Linked DNA regions of Homo sapiens: region 1 is linked to region 2. The links are contacts of gene promoters, found by promoter capture Hi-C in human tissues and cell types (Jung and others, 2019). All regions are on one chromosome and are shown on one strand. Each heading gives the region's core, a stretch centred on a gene start or on the middle of the fragment in contact. The rest is flanking DNA. Distances are from core to core; before and after follow the strand shown. Region 1 overlaps ZNF28 (zinc finger protein 28). Region 2 holds the start of ZNF611 (zinc finger protein 611).

Region 1 (6,012 bases), core at 1,691-4,190, 65 kb after region 2:
TGTATTTGCAGAATAGAATAATAGCACCAAAAATTAGTTGAATTTCCATACATTAACATTAAATAATTTTAAAATAAAATTAAAAACCACTTCCATTTGCTAAAGAGCTTAAAGTAAGAAATATTTAGGAATAAACATATAAAGGTGAGAAGTTTGTACCTTGAAATCTACAAACATTGATCAAAATGATTAAAAACATATAAATACACATACAATCCATACTGATTGGAAAAATTAGTATTGCTCAATGATTATATAACCGAATGTGATTTAGATTCAACACAATACTCATAGAAATCCCCATAACTTTTTGTTAAAGAAACAAAAAACAGGCCAGTCACGGTGGCTCACGCCCATAATCTCAGCACTTCGGGAGGTAGAGGTGGGTGAATCATAAGATCAGAAAATCGAGACCATCCAGGCTAACACAGCGAAACCCAGTCTCTACTAAAAATACAAAAAATTATCCAGGTGTGGTGGCATGCACCTGTAGTCCCAGCTAGTCAGGAGACTGAGGCAGGAGGATCGCTTGAACCTGGGAGGCGGAGGTTGTAGTGAGTCAAGATCATGCCACTGCACTCCAACCTGGATGACAGAGCAAGAGACTCCATCTCAAAAACAAAAACAAAAAAAAGAAAAAAGAAAGAAAGAATAGAAATGAAAACACAGGCTGGGAAAAGTGGCTCCCGTCTGTTGGCCAGGCTGTTCTCAAACTCTTAACCTCCAGTGACCTACCAGTCTTGGCCTCTCAAAGTGCTGGCATTGCAGGCGTGAGCCACAGTGCCCAGCCCAGTCCTCTTAACATAAACAGTTTAATGTCAATTAATGCTTAAACTCAATGTTAAGTCAACTCAAACTCAGGTCAGTGCTCATTTAACTGTAATGTCAATTAATGCTTGATGGCTTGCTATACTAATGGCATTTGAAACAACTGTCTCCAAAAGGAATTGTCTGATGGTCTGCAAGGAGTGATCTCGGACTGAAGACCTTACCACACTGATGACATTTGTAAGATTTCTGTCCAGCATGGATTCTCTGATGTCTATTGAGGTGTGAATGTGAAGTAAACGCTTTGCCACAATCATCACACTTGTGAGTTTCTCTCCTGTATGAATCCTCCTATGTTTTGCATAGGATGAAACTTGACTGAAGACCTTGCCACAATCATGACATTTATAAGGTTTCTCTCCAGCATGAGTTCGATGATGAATAGCAATATATGAACGATATCTGAAAAATCTGTCACATTTATTACACTTGTAAGATCTCTCATTATGGATTCTCCAATGATTTGCAATGGTTGTAGCATTACTGAAAACTTTGTGACAATCATTATATTAGTCAAGTTTCCCTATACTATGGATTGCTTGATGGTGAATAAGTGGTGACTGCCCACTAAAGGCTTTGCCACACTCATTGCACTTGTAAGGTTTCTCTCCAGTGTGAATTCTAGTATGGTGTGCCAGGTGTGAATCACTCCCAAAAGCCTTGTTACAAACCTTACATTTGTATGTTTTTTCTCCAGTATGAATTCTCCTGTCTTTCAAGCTGTGATTTGTGACTGACAACTTTGTCACAGTCTTCACATTTGTAAGATTTCTCTGCAGTATGAAGACTATGATGACTTGCAAGGTGTGACTGTTGATTAAAAACTATGCCACATTCATTACACTTGTAGGGTTTCTCTCCAATACGAATTGCCTTTTGAATTACAAGGTATGAATTTTGACCAAAGGTGTTGCCACACTCATCACATTTGTAAGGTTTCTCTCCAGTTTGAATTCTAATATGTTTTGCCAGGTATGAATTATATTCAAAAATCTTGTCATAAACCTTACATCTGTGTGGTTTCTCTTCAGCATGCATTTTCTTATGTGTTTCAAGGTTTGATTTGCAACCGAAAACTTTGTCACATTCTTCCTATTTGTAAAGTTTCTCTGCAGTATGAATTCTATGATGACGTGCAAGGGTTGTTTTTTGATTAAAAACCTTGCCACATTCATTACACTTGTAAAGTTTCTCTCCAGTATGAATGGCTTTGTGACTTACAAGGGTTGAATTGTGATGGAAGGTGTTGCCACACTCATTACACTTTTAAGGTTTCTCTCCACTATGAAGTCTATGATGGTATACAAGGTTTGACATCTGACTGAAGGTCTTGCCACACTCATTACACTTTCAAGGTTTCTCTCCACTATGAAGTCTATGATGGTATACAAGGTTTGACATCTGACTGAAGGTCTTGCCACACTCATTACACTTGTAAGGTTTCTCTCCAGTATGAACTCTCTGATGCTGTGCAAGGTGTGCTTGTTGATTAAAAACCTTGCCACATTCATTACACTTGTAAGGTTTCTCTCCACTATGAAGCCTATGATGGTATACGAGGGATGACATCTGACTGAAGGTCTTGCCACACTCATTACACTTGTAAGGTTTCTCTCCAGTATGAAGCCTACGATGGATTATAAGCGATGATGTCTGACGGAAGGTCTTGCCACACTCATTACACTTGTAAGGTTTCTCTCCAGTATGAACTCTCTGATGTTGTGCCAGGTGTGAATCCCTCCGGAAAGCCTTGTCACAAACCTTACATTTGTACGGTTTCTCTCCAGTATGAATCCTCCTATGTCTTTCCATGTGTGATTTGCGACTGAAAACTTTCTCACATTCTTCACATTTGTACGGTTTCTCTGCAGTATGAAGTTTATGATGACATGCAAGGTTTGCTTTTGTACTAAAAACCTTGCCACATTCATTACACATGTATGGTTTCTCTCCAGTATGAACTCTCTGATGTTCTGTAAGGCATGAATCACTCCGGAAAGCCTTGTCACAAACCTTACATTTGTATGGTTTCTCTCCAGTATGAATCCTCCTATGTCTTTCAAGGTGTGATTTGCACCTGAAAACTTTGTCACATTCTTCACATTTGTATGGTTTCTCTGCAGTATGAAGTCTATGATGGCGTGCAAGAGTTGATTGTTGATTAAAAACCTTGCCACATTCATTACACTTGTAAGGCTTCTCTCCAGTGTGAATTATACTATGTTTTGCCAGGTATGAATTATATGCAAAAGCCTTGTCACAAACCTTACATTTGTATGGTTTCTCTCCAGTATGAATCCTCTTATGTCTTTCAAGATGTGATTTGCGACTGAAAACTTTTTCACATTCTTCACATTCATAAGGTTTCTCTCCAGTATGAAGCCTACGATGGCGTGCAAGGGTTGACAGTCGATTAAAAACCTTGCCACATTCATTACACTTGTAAGGTTTCTCTCCAGTGTGAATTATAGTATGTTTTGCTAGGTATGAATTACATGTGAAAGCTTTGTCACAAACCTTACATTTGTATGGTTTCCCTCCAGTATAAATTATCTTATGTGTTTCAAGGTGTGATTTGCGACTGAAAACTTTGTCACATTCTTCACATTCATAAGGTTTGTCTGCAGTATGAAGCGCCTTGTGAAGGAAGAGGGATGTATTGTGACCAAAGATCTTGCCACACTCATTACACTTGTAAGGTTTCTCATCAATGTGAGATCTACGATGGCATGCAAGGTATCGCTTCTGATTAAATACCTTGCCATATACATCACATTTACATTGTTTCTCTTCTAAGTGGGTTATCTGATGTTTTTTTAAAAGTGAGCTACAATTAAAGGATTTGCCACTCTCAATACATTGGAAAGATTTTTCTCTCATGTGTACATTCCGTTTTTGTGTGAGTAATGAAGAATGGAGGGAATTATTTCCATACTTATTAGAAATATGGGTTTTGGGCCTACAACAAATTCTTTGGGATGTTGAAACTGAGGAAGCATTGTTGATAGACTTCTCAACTTGATTACCAATTTTCCCTTCAGGCTGAAATATGTGCAGTTCAGGCAGATGCGAATGAAAGCTTAATCCAAGCTGATCTTTAATATGCTTGTTTCCAGCATGCCTTTGATCATGTTGGCCTGTACTACCAGTCAACTCTTTGATTTCTGTCATGGGTGCTGCATGGTCATTTGTTTCATCTTCTTTCCACTGAAACTGGAAGCCATGAATGTCTTTCTCAATTTTCTGGAAGCAAAAATCTCCAATGTGATGACTTGCTTGTCTTTGCAATGTCCCTGTGTGGAACGCTTCTGTATTGCCTTGCCCTGTTGAGAAGAATGTCTTCATCATGCATTTGGAAGAGATATCTACAAAATATAAACACCAATAGGTTTCCAATGAAGTACAGATGGTGTATAATACTGAAATGTGTAAATATGACACAAAAAACAATACTTATTTTAAACTTCCCAAACATGATCTTCAAAGTTTAAGAACACAAAAGGAGTAAGATTCTTTAATAAATAAAGGGCGATTATATGTCTTTCAAATCAATTCCATGAAAGTCTATTTCCTATATCATGACAAAACACTGACAGGGCACAAACATGTGTGAGCCTAAAGTAAGGAGTGTTTTTCCACTGTGACCCTAAAGTGTATCACACTTTGCAAAAAACACATCACTATCACATCAAAAAAAGAAAAATATATATTCTTCATATTTACAGCGTATTTAGTGTATACAAATAAATGCTAAAGAACCACACAATATACTATATTGGTAAATAATCCAAAACAAGCTGTTGTAAGGATAACCAAAATCAATGGAAATTCTGTATTGTCAAACAATCATAGCACTGACAAGATAACAAAAGATTATAAAAATTAGCCAGGTATGGTGGCCCGTGCCTGTACTCACAGCTACTCTGAAGGCTGTGTCACAAGAATTGCGTTAAGCCAAAGGCAAAGGTTGCTGTAAGCCAATATTACACCACTGCACTCCAGCCCAGGTGACAAAATGAGCCTCCATCTCAAAAAAACAAAAAAACAAACAACAAAAAAAGGCAGGGCATGGTGGCTCATGCCTGTAATCCCAGTACTTCTAGAGGGCAAGGCAGGCAGATCACCTCACGTCAGGAGTTTGACCAGCCTGGCCAATGTGGCAAAACCCCATCTGTACTGAAAATACAAAAAGTAGCTGGCATGGTCACAGGTGCCTGTAATCCCAGCTACTTGGGAGGCTGAGTCAGGATAATCGCTTGAACTTGGGAGGCAAAGATTGTGGTGAGTTGAGATCGCACCACTGCACTCCACCCTGGATGACAGAGTGAGACTCCATCTCAAAAAAAGGAAAATGTTAATACCATATTTTTCCAAATAACTGTTACAAAATTACCTATATCCATGTGGAACAGGCACGTTGTGACTTTTTTTTTTTTTTTTTGCGACGAAATCTTGCTCTGTCGCCCAGGCTGGAGTGCAGTGGCATGATCTCGGCTCACTGCAAGCTCCACCTCCCGGGTTCACGCCATTCTCCTGCCTCAGCCTCCCCAGCAGCTTGGACTACAGGCACACACCGCCATGTCCAGCTAACTTTTTTGTATTTTTAGTAGAGACAGGGTTTCACTGTGTTAGCCAGGATGGTCTCGATCTCCTGACCTTGTGATCCCCTTGCCTCAGCCTCCCAAAGTGCTGGGATTATAGGCATGAGCCACCGCACACGGCCGACTTTTAAAAAAAATTTTATGTATTTTTATTTTTTTGAGATACAGTGTCACTCTGTCACCCAGGCTGGAGTGCAATGGTATGATCTTGGCTCAATGCAACCTCTGCCTTGGGGTTCATGTGAGTCTCTTCCTTAGGTTCTGAGCACCTGGGAATGCAGGCACATGCCACTGTGCCCGGCTAATTTTTGTATTTTTAGTAGAGATGGGGTTTGGTGAAACCTGTTGGCCAGGCTGGTCTCGAACTCCTGACCTCAGATGATCCACACATCTCAGCCTCCCAAGACCTGGGATTACAGGCATGAGCCACTGCACCCTGTGGCACTTTGTGACATTATCTAGGGGAGTGTCAGTTATATTGCATACCACATACCGAAAACTCACATATAAAGTCATAAAAATCAATTAATCAAATATTGCAACCCATGATAAAACAAGCAAGAAAATAACAAGTAGATTTATA
Region 2 (6,150 bases), core at 2,288-4,787:
GAGTCTGCCATCACTACCGGCTAATTTTTGTATTTTTTTTTTTGTAGAGATGGGGTTTCACTCTGTTGGCCAGGCTGGTATCGAACTCCTGACCTCGTGATCCACCCACCTTGGCTTCCCAAAGTGCTGGGATTACAGGCTTGAGCCACCGTGCCCTGATGTCCCTTTTGAAAACTACTATGGGCTAGGCGTGGTGGCTTACGCCCGTAATCCCAGCACTTTGGGAGGCCGAGGCAGGTGGATCACCTCAGGTCGGGAGTTAGAGACCAGCCTGGATCAACATGAAGAAACCCTGTCTCTACTAAAAACACAAAATTAGCCGAGCGTGGTGGTGCATGCCTGTAATCCCAGCTATTCAGGAGGCTGAGGCAGTAGAATCGCTTGATGCTAGGAAGCCAAGGTTGTGGTGAGCTGAGATCATGCCATCGCACTCCAGCCTTGGCAACAAGAGCAAAATTCCCTCTCAAAAAAAGAAAAAAAAATGGCCGGGCGGGTGGCTCACGCCTGTAATCCCAGCACTTTGGGAGGCTGAGGCGGGCGGATCACGAGGTCAGGAGATTGAGACCATCCTGGCTAACACGGTGAAATCCTGTCTCTACTAATAATACAAAAAATTAGCTGGTAGTGGTGACAGGAGCCTGTACTCCCAGCTACTCCGGAGGCTGAGGCAGGAGAATGGCGTGAACCCGGGAGGCGGAGCTTGCAGTGAGCTGAGATCGTGCCACTGCACTCCAGCCTGGGTGACAGAGCAAAACTCCATCTCAAAAAAGAAAAAAGAAAACAGAATAACTCACAGTATTGAGTTATTCTGAATAACTCACAGTATTGAGTTATTCTGAATAACTCACAGTATTGAGTTATTCTGAATAACTCACAGTATTGAGTTATTCTGAATAACTCACAGTATTGAGTTATTCTGAATAACTCACAGTATTGAGTTATTCAGAATAACTCACAGTATTGAGTTATTCAGAATAACTCACAGTATTGAGTTATTCAGAATAACTCACAGTATTGAGTTATTCAGAATAACTCACAGTATTGAGTTATTCAGAATAACTCACAGTATTGAGTTATTCTGAATAACTCACAGTATTGAGTTATTGAGTTATTCAGAATAACTCAATGTATTGAGGGCTAAGTAGGCCAGACACGGTGGCTCCTCCCTGTAATCCCACCCGTAATCCCAGTAATTTGGGAGGCCAAGGCAGGAGGATCCTTTGAGCCCAGGATTTTGAGACCAGCCTAGGAAACATAGTGAAACTCCGTTTCTACAAAAAAAAAAAAAAATACAAAAACTAGCCGGGCTTGGTGGCTCATGCCTCTGGTCTCAGCTACTCAGAAGGCTGAGGAAGGAGGATGGCTTGAACTTAAGAGGTCGAGGCTGCAGTTAGAGGAGATCACGCCACTGCACACCAGCCTGGGTGATAGAGTCAGACCCTGTCTCAAAATATTAATTAATTAATTAATTAAATGTATTTTGTAACAACAGACAGTGACTATTTTCCCACTTCACTGACCCACGTCCTACCCCATCCTAGGAAAAGGGGAGACAGTGATTCACAACTGAATAAGTGACTGCCCTCTGGCAAATAGGGATTCCAAGTGGAACATAACCTCTGATGCCAAGATTTATAGAATGTACATGTCTTATAGATACGAATTTTAAAATTCTCAATCTCATCTGTGTAATTTAAACAAGTTTTTAGTTATTAGATTATATATACAGAACTCAACATGTCACAACCAATCATATCCAATGAACTCACCCACTCATCTGAACCCAGTCTCTCGCCCCTTTTTTTTTGTTTGGAGACAAGGTCTCGCTCTGACGACCAGGCTGCAGTGTAGTCACATGATCTCAGCTCACTGCAGCCTGGACCTCCTGGGCTCAAGTCATCCTCCCAGCTTGGCCACCAGAGCAGCTGGGAGTACAGGTGCACACCATTATGCCCGGTTATTTACTTACTTTTTTGGCGGGGGGGAGGTCTCACTATGTTGCCCAAGCTGGTCTCGAACTCCTGGACTCAAGCAATCCCCTTGCCTCAGTCTCCTAAAGTGTGGAGACTACAGACTACAGGCGTGAGCCACTGTGTCCAGACCCTCTTTCTTCATTACTGTGCTTCCCTCCCTAATTCTGTACATATCTCTCATTCTCCCCTTCTCTCTCTAGCTCTTGTTTTCTTTTCTTTTTCCCTGGGATTCTGCTCTTCATTTTGTACCCCTCTCCTCTCCTGCTATTCATCCCCTTCTTCCCTTTATTCCTTCTCTTCCACCTCTTCTCCTCCATCCTCACAACTTATTTAACCTCTTATTGCTCCTTCTCCCCAATCTTTCAATCGTCCTCAATCTCCATCTATTTCTGCCTCTTCTCCCATCTCTGCGCCTCCTCTGCTCTCCCTGTTAAATTCCATCTTCCCCGATATACTCCCTTGTCCCCACTCTGTGTCTCCCCAGATCCCAGCTGTCCTCTCTGCTGTGGTTCTCCCTCTGTTCTCCTTGACACAAGCACCACTCTGCTCTGTCTGCCCTGGCTCCAAATCCTTCCCTCTCTCCCTCACTCTGATGAGTCTCCCTCTTTGCTGCCACTCCCCCTACCTTGTGATCCTTCATCTCTCTGTACATCTATCTAGCCTTTCTCTACATTTCTCCGGTTGCTTTTCTCCTCCTGCTTTCTTAGGTTTTTTTTTTTTTTTTTCACTTCTGCCATCTCTTGGCATATCCCTCACCAATCCTCTATTTTGCCATCTGTTATGGGCCTTTCTTATTCTTCTTTTCTCTGCCTCAGGTTTTCTACTGCTCTCTGTCTCCTGATTCCTTTGGCCCACACAATCGCAACACGGTTTGGAGTAAGACGCCTGCATCCCGGAGGAGCGCATTTTCCACGCCCTGGAGCTCCGCAGGCAAGAATACCCCGTGCCGCAGGACAGGCCCCTGGGACCTCCCCAGTGCAGGTTCAATGAAAGCGGTGACTGCGGAGGGGAGACCTGGGGAGCAGCAGGCCCCGGCATGAGGAGGAAGGTGCGGGGCGGGGGGGGGGGGCGCGACGGCGCCTTAGGACCAGGATGGGGTCTGCAGGATCCCAGGACCTGGCAGAGGACTCGGCCTCCCCGGGACTGGGGCTGCGGCGCGGCGCTCCCGGGGCTGAGGAGGGGGAGGCTGGGAGGCGCCCTGGGCAAGAATCCACATCGCGGGTGAAGACTTTAAAAAGCGCGGGGCGCGAGGAGTCAGAACAAGGTTTTCAGCAGGAAAACTACGCAACAGAAAGTGTATACATTGACCTATAGCAGAAAGACCGGGGACGAGACCAGCCTCAGGACGACTTTAAACCCAAAAGGAAGCGACCCTCGGGCTCTCACGGGGATGTCTCAATTTGCTCTGGGCAAAGGAAGACGCCGGAGAATTTCCAGGTCTGTGGGGACCCCACGTCCCAGGGACAGAAGCCCTGGGAACCTAGTTAGCGCAGACTTAATACAACACAGAGCAAAACTCACCGCGGCGATATGACCTACACTCCACCCGATCCGCTTCCGGGTTTGCGTTAATCTGCGCGCGCAGGACAAAAGCCAGGCCTGGGCGGGAAGTGGGAGGTAGGCGGGGCCTGGGCGAGGTAGGGGCGGGGCGCGAGGCGGAGAGACCTTGCCTTTTAGAACCGGCAGAGGGCAGGGCCGGGGCGGGATCTGCGCGTCTCTCAGCCTCGCTCCCAGCGTCTCTGTTTTCAGGTTTTGGAGGCGAGAGCGCCAGAAAGTCTGAGGCATGATACAAAAGCCCTGTTGAGAGAAGAGAGAGACCCTCTGACATTGTTTTATATTGTTTTATAGTCAGTAAAAACAACAGGAAGTAAAACCAAAGACAGGCAGCCCCGCGCCAGGCCCGAAACCAGGCCTGGATCCGCCTGGCCTAAACCCAGTAGTTAAAAATCAACTTATGATTTAGAAGCTGATGTTAGGCATAGATTCCAGACATTGTATAGAAGAACACGGTGAAACTCCTGCCCTGTTCTCTCTCTCCCTGATCACCGGTGCATGCAGCCCCTGTCACGTATCCCTTGCTTGCTCAATCAGTCACTATCCTTTCATCTGAAATCTTTAGTGTTGTGAGCCCTTAAAAGGGACAGAAATTGTGCACTCGGGGAGCTTGGATTTTAAGGCAGTAGCTTGCCAATGCTCCCAGCTGAATAAAGCCCTTCCTTCTACAACTCGGTGTCTGAGAGGTTTTGTCTGCGACTCGTCCTGCTACACTGTAATTGTCTGGAACAGGGATACAAACTAGAATGTGAAATGCAAAGCCCTGCCTGGGCGGTATGTACCATGTCATGCTGAGGTCCCACAGAACAGATAGATATCCTCTCCCTTTCTATTGTCCATTCACTCCGGAAGGAGACTCCGCCCTGTGCTCAGCTTCAGAGACTTCCCTGAAGCCACCGCCTGGAATGCCGGACGGAGTGCTCAGGCCGAGAAGGAGTGAGGTCACCACCTGCTGCTTAAAGACAGCAGAGGCGCGGGGGCGGGAGCCTGAGGTCCCAGCTACTCAGGAAGCAGCGGCGGGAGGATCCCTGAGCCTCGGGTTCCAAGCCAGCCTGAGCGACAAAATAACGCCCACTGCCGCGGTCTCCCTTTCTTGTCTCTCTCTCTCTCTTTTTTTTTAAAAAAAACTTTCGCAAATAAAATTTTTGATTGTGTGACATAGGGATCCAACATTATTCTTTTCCATGTGGATATCCAGATAGTTGTCCTAGCACATTTATGGAAGAGATCTATTACTTTCTTGTATTATTATTATTATTATTATTATTATTATTATTATTTTTGAGACAGAGTATTTCTCTGTTGCCCAGGCTGGAGTGCAGTGGCGAGATCTCGACTAAATGCATCCTCTGCCTCCTGGGTTCAAGCGATTCTCCTGCCCCAGCCTTGGGAACAGCTGGCATTACAGGCGTGCGCCACCATGCCAGGCTAATTTTTGTATTTTTAGTAGAGACGGGGTTGACCATGTTGACCAGGCCGGTATCGGACTCCTCACTCCAAGTTATTTGCCTGCCTCAGCCTCCTAAAGTGCTGGGGTTACGGCGTGAGCCAACATGCCTGGCTAATTTTTTGTATTTTTAGTAGAGATGGGATTTCATCGAGTTAGCCAGGACGGTCTCTATCTCCTGACCTTGTGATCCGCCCGCGTCGGCCTCCCAAAGTGCTGGGATTACAGGCGTGAGCCACCGCGCCCGGCCAGAAATATTCTTTTTTTTTTTTTTTTTTTTTTTAAACGGAGTCTCACTCTGTCGCCCAGGCTGGAGTGCAGTGGCGCAATCTCGACTCACTGCAAGCTCCGCCTCCCGGGTTCACGCCATTCTCCTGCCTCAGCCTCCGGAGTAGCTGGGACCACAGGCTCCCGCTACCACGCCTGGCTAATTTTTTTGGGTTTTTTTTTTTTTGTATTTTTTTTTAGTAGAGACGGTGTTTCACCATGTTGGCCAGGATGGTCTCGATCTCTAGACCTCGTGATCCACCCGCCTCCGCCTCCCAAACTGCTGAGATTACAGGCGTGAGCCACCGTGCCATGCCGCAGAAATATTCTTTGCTTCGCTTTTTAAATGTTGACAAAATATAACTGAAAACTAAAAAGTCTCCTCCCAAATGAGAAATCATCTCCACGACGATAACAGAGAAAGAAATAAAAACCATTTTATTAATAAATAAACCTTAGACCAGAATGTGATGGGAAATAGAGGCAAACAGCTAAAAGATTGAAAAGAGAGAAAGAAACTTCACTGTTCTATACAACCCATTAAGGACATATTTTCAAGATAAATACTAATCAGTCCTCAAGGAAGAGGACTTGACAACACCCTTGGTCACACATAGTTCATCCTGGCTCTACTTGGTAATGGAGGTGACCATCTGTGTCAGCTAACTAGCGTCATCCTGAGGGAGGGGGAGAAACTCTAACCCATGTCTTTTTGGCAAGTGTGAGTTTTACAACATGGCGACAGGTGCCCTCTCTGGTGAGGCTCCTACCATACGACAGACACTGATGTCAGCAGTAAATAATAAAATTTAAAGTATATGATTAAGTACAGAGTTAATGTGAACACAGAGCTTGAAGAAAGCCACCTGGAAACATCAACTCCAAATGAATGGGATCAGCGTTCCCAAG

The links. Contacts are between HindIII fragments. The study calls those that stand out against the background at their distance.
Region 1: a fragment that was not itself captured here is called in contact with the fragment with the promoter of ZNF611 in region 2 in 2 of the 25 tissues and cell types used here (IMR-90 fibroblasts and bladder).

What each region holds. Positions count from the first base shown.
Region 1 is chr19:52,797,510-52,803,521 of GRCh38, forward strand. It overlaps ZNF28 (zinc finger protein 28), which reads right to left. Exons shown (of 4, transcript NM_006969.5): 4 at 1-4,193. The coding sequence ends at 2,179. It also overlaps a transcript of ZNF600 not described here. Among named protein-coding and RNA genes, the nearest start is that of ZNF600, 14 kb to the left of the region's middle. The HindIII fragment of the contact is 4,514 bases long and covers 684-5,197 here.
Region 2 is chr19:52,731,507-52,737,656 of GRCh38, forward strand. It overlaps ZNF611 (zinc finger protein 611), which reads right to left and starts at 3,538. Exons shown (of 6, transcript NM_001161499.2): 1 at 3,495-3,538. LOC124904760 (a long non-coding RNA gene) reads left to right here and starts at 2,525. Exons shown (of 2, transcript XR_007067328.1): 1 at 2,525-2,954; 2 at 3,288-4,198. RefSeq lists enhancers at 3,526-4,511, 3,824-3,953 and a silencer at 3,574-3,643. The HindIII fragment of the contact is 18,911 bases long and covers 1-6,150 here.